Linked DNA regions of Homo sapiens: region 2 is linked to region 1. Evidence: promoter capture Hi-C in human tissues and cell types (Jung and others, 2019). All regions are on one chromosome and are shown on one strand. The core of a region is centred on a gene start or on the middle of the fragment in contact, and the rest is flanking DNA. Distances in the headings are between cores, read along the strand shown.

Region 1 (3,922 bases), core at 911-3,410:
TTCAGGTTCCAACAGTCCACATGTATTTGTAAAATGACTCAGTCACAAAATGACTATTTGAAAATGGACAGGGGAAAAGGGAAAATTTGTAATCTATTAATTTACCCTATCATCTAGCAAGGTTCTACCAGCACTCCTTCCTGCATACGGTAAATAAATTTATCTTAAAGCCCTCCAAATACCACCCTCAGAAATCCTACCAGCTTCCGTAGATAGACGCTGAAAAAGTCAAAATTAACACATTCCTTCCCAGAGTTTTCAATAGTAAAATGCTGGGAATAGAGGAAGTTTTTCTCATTTCTAAGGGCCAGTAACCATGGTATTTTATTTCTCCCTACTTAAGGAGGGAAAGAATCTGGAATTTTCTCCGGATTTATTATCTACCAATATAGCTAGCACTTAGGGAACGTTCTTAACCTAAGCGCTCAACTAGGCAGGGCGCAGTAGCTCATGCCTGTAACTTCAGCACTTTGGAAGGCCTAGGCAGGAGGATGGCTTGAACCCAGGAGTTTCAGACCAGCCTGGGCAACACCCGGAGACCTCCTCTCTTCAAAAAATTAGCCGGGCATGGTGGTGCCGCGCCTGTGATCCCAGCTACTCAGGAGGCTGAGATGGAAGGATCGATTGAGCCCAGGAGTTCGAGGCTGCAGTGATCTGTGATCGTGCCACTGCATCCCAGCTTGGGTAACAGAGGGAGACCCTGTCTCAAAGAAAAAAATTAAATATATAAGTGCTCAACCGCATTCACTTTTAATCTCCATAAACTAAGCTTCACACATTACAATATGAGGAAGGCAAAGTCACAGACAGAAAGGAAAGAAAACGGAGGGAGTTAGTATTTAATAGCTACACTTTCTGTTTCCGATGATGAAAAAGTTCTGGACATGAAGCAGTGACGGTTACAGCACACTGAGTCAGTATACTCAATGCCACTGAATTATACGCTTAAAAAATGGTTAAAATGGCAAAGTCTACGTTATGTCTATTTTACCACAATGAAATAAATGTCTGGGAAATTCAATGTGTACCCAGGCTTCCCCTTCCTTCCCGGCCGCTGATCTTGGAGCCAAAACCTCTCTGTCTCTCTTAAGTGTCTGTAATCAGAATGAATGAGTTTCACCGGGGCACAAGTCGATGCTTCCTCCTTTAAAGAAACTTTTAAAAGCCAAGGAGTCAAAGAGCCCCAAGCAGGACTCGAAAAGCTGATGAAGTCTGGAAGTAAATGAACCCGCCTCCTGACAGAACAGCTTCCCCGAAACACGGGAAAAAGGGGATTCCTCCCCCGACTTCGTATCTGTCTGCTTCCGAGGGTGAACGCTAAGCAGCAGATCCCATCTCTCCACTAATACCTGCGGCGCACCCGGGGAGGAGGAGCGGGAAACGGCGAGGGACTTGAGCCAGGGCCAGAGCGTGGGGCGAGGGGCGGTTCCGAGGGAGGCACTTCCCGCGGAGCGCGGTCGGCGCGCGGGGACTAAGGGGCGGGGCAGGAGGGGAGCCCCCCGACCCGGCTTCGCGGCCCTTCCTGACGCTTCCCTCGCTCGGTTACCGTTGACTCGGGCTGACTGCGCGCGAGGCCTCCCGGGCGCGCACCCTCTCTCCTCCCCCCACGTTACGGATCAGAAAACAGACCCCGGGAGGAGAGGGGACGGGGGGCTGAAACCCGGCCCCCGAGGTCACCCTCCCGGGGAGCGGTCGGGTAGGCCTCGGAGGCTCTCCGGTCCGGGCCCGCGCCATCAACCCCCATGCGCAGCAGCTGGGCCTGAGGCCTCGACTACGGGGTTGGCCCCGGCCTGGAGGGACTGAGGGTGGCGAGGCTCGAGGCCCGGTGTAGGGGACGATTCTGGAGGCTCCCCCGGCTCCCCGCTCACGGCCCTAGACGCCGCTACCCTGAGCAGGCGGTACGGGAACAGCCGGGGCCGAGGCCGCGCCGGGGCTAGGCCGCCAACAGACCTAACGGAGCCGCCGCCCGCGTCGGCCGCGGAGAGGAACCCTTACCCGTGGCAAAGGACCGTGGGATACTCACCCCTTAGGGCCCGGAGCCCCGTTGCCGCTCGGCACGCCGGGCGCGCCGCTCTCTTCCTCCATTTTGATCTCCGTCGCCGCCACCTCCGCCGCCGCTTCGACCCCTGCCGCCATTTTCTCCGCGTCTGGGCTTTGTGTGAGCGAACGGGCTGCACCGCGCTGCGCCTGCGCGCCCACGTGACCCGACGCAACCAGTAACACCTGCGCCCGCCGCTCCCGGCTGCCTCCTTGGCCCCACTCGCCCCGGGCCACGCCCCCGCCGCGCGCAGGCGCAGACCGGCAGCTGTTGATCGCTTCTCTCTCGAGATACACTCGCGTTAGGCACCGACTGGCTGTTCCCGGCGCGCGTCCTCTGAGTCCGATAGAGGAGGCATCTCCCCACCCCACCCCACACAAACACCTAGACCTAGTCACTCTCAGCTTTCTGTAACCAGAGCTGGAGCAGAGGGGAAGCAATGATCCTGTCTAGAGATTCCTGGAAGTTTTAGATGAAGCTTGTTCAACCCGCGGTCCGGCACACGATTCGTAAACTTTCTTAAAACATTGTGTCTTTTTGTGTGATTTTTTTCTTTTTGTAACGCAATTGCGCGGTTCTCCAGCGCGAACTTTGTAGGCAACAACGGAACGGCATGGAATAATATCAGAGTATTATCCGTAATTCGCATTATAATTGCAAACAGTTCGTCCAGAAGAAACGGAAAACTGTTAAAATTCACTAATAATGGGGCCAGGCGCGATGGCTCACTCCTGTAATCCCAGCACTTTGGGTATGGGAGGCCGAGGCGGCGGATCACCTGAGGTCAGGAGTTCGAGACCAGACTGGCCAACATGGTGAAACCGCGTCTCTACTAAAAATAAAAAAATTAGCTGGACGTGGTGGCGGGCGCCTGTAATCCCAGCTACTCGGGAGGCTGAAGCAGGAGAATCGCTTGAACCCAGGAGCCGGAGGTTGCAGTGAGCCGAGATCACGCCACTGCACCGCAGCCTGGGAGATAGACTGAGACTCCATCTCAAAAAACAAAAAGATAAGTATTGAGTACTGGGCTTAATACCTGGGTGATGAAATAATCTGTACAACAAACCTCCATGACAAGTGTTTACCTATTTAACAAACCTTCACATTTACCCCCAAACCTAAAAGTTAAAAACAAAATTAAAAAAAAAATTAATGGCTGGGCGCGGCAGCTCACGCCTGTAATCCTACCACTTTGAGAGGCCAAGGCGGGTGGATCACGAGGTCAAGAGATCAGACCATCCTGGCCAACATGATGAAACCCTGTCTCTACTAAAAATACAAAAATTAGCCGGGTGTGGTGGCAGGCGCCCATAATCCCAGCTACTGGGGAGCCTGAGGCAGGAGAATCGCTTCAACCCAGGAGGAGGAGGTTGCAGTGAGCCAAGATCGGGCCACTGCACTCCAGCCTGGTCACAGAGTGAGACCCCATCTCAAAAAAATTAAAAATAATAATAAAGAGCGAGAGGACTCTTGCAATGTTGCATAAAGTGAACTGTGACAGAATTCAGGGTGTATTCTGTACTAGGCATAATGCTGTATGGTCTTATTTTTGTGTGCATTCGTGGCATCAGTTTTATGGTGCTGTGCAGCCTCCAATGTGCCATTTTCCAAGTGCAGACAGTCGAATTGGCACCATCAGATGTTACGTGTGCTTGTGGCAACTTGGGCAGTAAGATGCAGCGATTATCTTTTTGAGACGGAGTTTCGCTCTTGTTGCCCAGACTGGAGTGCAATGGCGCCATCTCGGCTCGCTGCAACCTCCGCCTCCTGGGTTCAAGCGATTCTCCTGTCTCAGCCTCCCGAGTAGCTGGGATTACAGGTGCATGCCACCACGCCCGGCTAACTTTTGTATTTTTAGTAGAGACAAGGTTTCATCATATTGGT
Region 2 (3,922 bases), core at 1,051-3,550, 150 kb before region 1:
GGGGCTGCTTCCTCCTTTCCTCTGACCACTGTCTCCAGAGCCTCCTGCCCTCACAGTTTTACTTTCCTGTGGTGATGGGCAAATTGGTACCTTCAGACAGCTGTGGAATGAACTCAGACATGTATATCCCTCAGGTCGCCTCTGGACAAAGATGCTTGAGGCAGTCAGGGGGGTAAGCAGGGGTTGGGGGACAAGTAGATAAGCTGAGCTTGGAGGAGTCTGAAAGAAATGTTCTGGTAAGCAATCCAGACTTGAGTCTCACTTCTGACACCTACCAGCTGTGTCCTAACCTCTGTTTGCATGTCTCCTCATCTGTAAATTGGGGATGATAATAGCACCTGTTGATGAAAAGACTGATGCATGGCCAGGCATGGTGGCTCACACCTGTGATCCCAGCACTGTGCCAGGCCAGGACAGGAGGATCGCTTGAGGTCAGGAGTTCAAGACCAGCCTGGCCAACATGGTGAAACCCAGTCTCTACTAAACATACAAAAATTAGGCGGGCATGGCTGGGCACGGTGGCTCACGCCTGTAATCCCAGCTACTCGGGAGGCTGAGGCAGGAGAATCGCTTGAACCCAGGAGGCGGAGGTTGCAGTGAGCTGAGATCACACCATTGTACTCCACCCTAGACAAAAAGAGCAAAACTCTGTCTCAAAAAAAAAAAAATTAAGTGGGCATAGTGATGTGCGCCTATAGTCTCAGCTACTTGGGAGGCTGAAGCAGTAGAATCATTTGAACCTGGGAAGTGGAGGTTACAGTGAGCTGAGATTGCACCGCAGCACTGCAGCCTGGGCAACAGAGCGAGACTCCATCTCAAAAAACAACAACAACAAATAGTAACAACAGCAAATATTACCTATTCATGAAAAGACTGATACATGGCTGGGCATGGTGGCTCACACCTGTAATCCCAGCCCTATGGGAGGCCAGGCAGGAGGATCACTTGAGGTCAGGAGTTCAAGACCAGCCTGAGCAACATACCAAGACCCCCATCTTTAACAACAACAGCAACAAAAAACCCTAATAGCAGGTTTAGCCTAAGACCCGACACACAGTAGGTGCCTGATGAAAGCAAGCTGTTATCATTGTTTTTGCTTTTCATTTTCTACCCTGGGCTCCTCTTAAGACTCGGTCTCTCTTGTTTCTTGGAGGTCAGGTTGCCAAACTTTTCCAGGACTCGAGTCTGGGAAGCACCGTTAACATCCTCGTAACTCGCCTCATCCTGCTCACGGAGGACCAGGTGCGGGGGACTTCCTCCCCTTCCCCTTCCCCTTCATACCAGCATGTCCTGCCGTCCCCTGGGTGGTGGGTGCCCATGCATTTCCCTCTGTCCATCCCCAGCCCACTCTGGAGATCACCCACCATGCCGGGAAGTCCCTGGACAGCTTCTGTAAGTGGCAGAAATCCATCGTGAACCACAGCGGCCATGGCAATGCCATTCCAGAGAACGGTGTGGCTAACCATGACACAGCAGTGCTCATCACACGGTGAGGGGACAGGAGAGGTCTAGGACTGGGGCTGAGAAAACAGATGGTCCAGGGAACCATGAGAGTCCAAACAGAGATCACTTCTGCTAGGGTCAGGAGGAGCAGAGAAGTTTGGGCTGCCCATGAGGGAGCCAGGGATGGGGAGGGGCTGCTTGAGAATAATGGGTAAGGGAGGTTTGGGACCATTTGGGCACCGATGCCCTCATTCACTTATTCTCCCACTCATGCATGCATGCATGCATTCATTCATTCATGTGGTCAGTCACTCCTGTATGCAGCTTCAGGTGAGAGGCAGATGGCGCCTCCAAGGCAGGACTCAACCCCCAGAGCTGGGCATGGTGGCATCAGCAGGGCTTAGGGAGACAGCCCAGCCCCCTCACTGACCCTGTCTCCTTTTACAGCTATGACATCTGCATCTACAAGAACAAACCCTGCGGCACACTAGGTACCCGAGCCCCGTAGGTTTCAGGCGCCTATGAAGGCAGTGGGCTGGGGTGAGACCTGGCAGGTGGATGGGGCCAGCCAGCACCGTCCTGAGCCTCCCAGCCCCATCCCCACATGTCCGTCTTCCCAGGCCTGGCCCCGGTGGGCGGAATGTGTGAGCGCGAGAGAAGCTGCAGCGTCAATGAGGACATTGGCCTGGCCACAGCGTTCACCATTGCCCACGAGATCGGGCACACGTGAGGCCAGGGCACACAAGAGGGGGAGGAGGGGAGGAGCTGGGCGGGTCCCTCAGCGCCCGGCAGAGCCGACACCCCTTTCCCCAGATTCGGCATGAACCATGACGGCGTGGGAAACAGCTGTGGGGCCCGTGGTCAGGACCCAGCCAAGCTCATGGCTGCCCACATTACCATGAAGACCAACCCATTCGTGTGGTCATCCTGCAGCCGTGACTACATCACCAGCTTTCTAGAGTGAGGATGCACCTGGGTGTCCCTCAGAGCGGGTCACACTCATGGTGGGGCAGGGTACACGGGAGACGATAGAAATCAGGGATGCTCCCTGGGACCCCCATCCAGCTGAGGCTCCTGAGCTCTTGATTTGCAGCCACCTAGCATGACAGTTGCTTTTCTCTCGAGGCAGCTCGGGCCTGGGGCTCTGCCTGAACAACCGGCCCCCCAGACAGGACTTTGTGTACCCGACAGTGGCACCGGGCCAAGCCTACGATGCAGATGAGCAATGCCGCTTTCAGCATGGAGTCAAATCGCGTCAGTGTAAATACGGGGTAGAGAGAGTCTTCCTGCTTTCCTTCCTGGGAGGGGAGGGGGCCGCTGGGGCTGGGGGAGGGAACTCCACCAGGGCACCCACCTGGGAAGTGAGGGGGTGGGAGAACCGGGAAGGGGGGTGAGGTGAGCCCCCATGGTGACCTGGGAGGACAGAGGTGCATGGAGTGTGCAAAATGTCCTAAGCAATCAGACAGTGCTTGGGAACAAAAATGGGATCACCTGCTTCTCCAGACCCCTGATTTGAGGGCTGGGCTGGGGGGCCAGCTTCTGTCTGGCACATCACACCCCCTGTGGGCTACAGCAGGATCAAAGTCTCAAGACCTCTCACGGGGCAGTTTTTAACTAAACATCCAGTCCTGACGGAAATAATTTCCCTGGGGATGAGCCATCTTTCCTACTTGGCAAAGAACTAGACAGAACCTTCCAGGGACTCCCTGTCTGGAGGAGCTCTGAGCCTCCTGACCTCTCCCCACCCTTTCCTGAGGTTTAGATTCCCAAAGCCCCATTCGTGCATAGAGAAGGGCATTGGGGGGCAGGAGGTTCCACTCCCAGCTCCCCCCAGGAAGCTGAAGACCTGCTGGCTTCCTGCTTCAGCCACCAAGGTTCAGCCAGGATCTGCTCCTCCTCTGCCCACCTGCCTCGATTCCCTAAATGCACCCCTAAGCTCCTCACAGTCTCAGCCCTAGGGGCCCAGGTTCAGCCCCAGTTCTTCACACTATCACAACTCAAACGATCAGAGTTTTTGTGATGCCATGTTAATGCAAAGCAGAGGGCAAGCAGCTGCCAAATTGCCCTCCCTTCATTCCACTGCAAGACAGAGACAAACCCTGGAACAATTTCTATTTCACTGACATTCCACCCTTGACACCCCCCAACATCCTAACTTAGCTGGTAACTGCAGCACCCTCTAAGGAATTCCTAAAGAATTCTGAAGCTACTCCTCAACATCTGCTGTGACCCAGGTATCCTAACAATGATCATGGTGTCTGACATTTACTGAGCTCTCACTATGGGCTAAGCATGTGCTGTGTGTCACCATCTAAACTCCTGACAATCCTGCTAGCCCCCACGTTACAGAGGAAGGGACTGAGCCATAGCATAGGGAGGATGACTTGTCCAAGGCCACAGTTTGAGACCATGACAGAGCTGGGATTTAAATCCAGGTCTCTCATGACTCTCTAAATTTTACAAAGGGGCAGGGGAGGGG

The links. The method cuts DNA at HindIII sites, captures the fragments that hold promoters and counts their contacts. A contact is called where the count stands out against the background at its distance.
Region 2: a contact is called between a fragment that was not itself captured here and the fragment with the promoter of HNRNPM in region 1, in 1 of the 25 tissues and cell types used here (psoas muscle).

What each region holds. Positions count from the first base shown.
Region 1 is chr19:8,443,213-8,447,134 of GRCh38, reverse strand. HNRNPM (heterogeneous nuclear ribonucleoprotein M) reads right to left here and starts at 2,160. Exons shown (of 16, transcript NM_005968.5): 1 at 2,024-2,160. The coding sequence starts at 2,136. RefSeq lists silencers at 1,652-1,881, 2,122-2,401. The HindIII fragment of the contact is 5,541 bases long and covers 1-3,922 here.
Region 2 is chr19:8,594,554-8,598,475 of GRCh38, reverse strand. ADAMTS10 (ADAM metallopeptidase with thrombospondin type 1 motif 10) reads left to right here. Exons shown (of 26, transcript NM_030957.4): 7 at 1,159-1,242; 8 at 1,344-1,489; 9 at 1,891-1,934; 10 at 2,064-2,169; 11 at 2,257-2,403; 12 at 2,573-2,714. Among named protein-coding and RNA genes, the nearest start is that of ADAMTS10, 14 kb to the left of the region's middle. The HindIII fragment of the contact is 8,071 bases long and covers 1-3,922 here.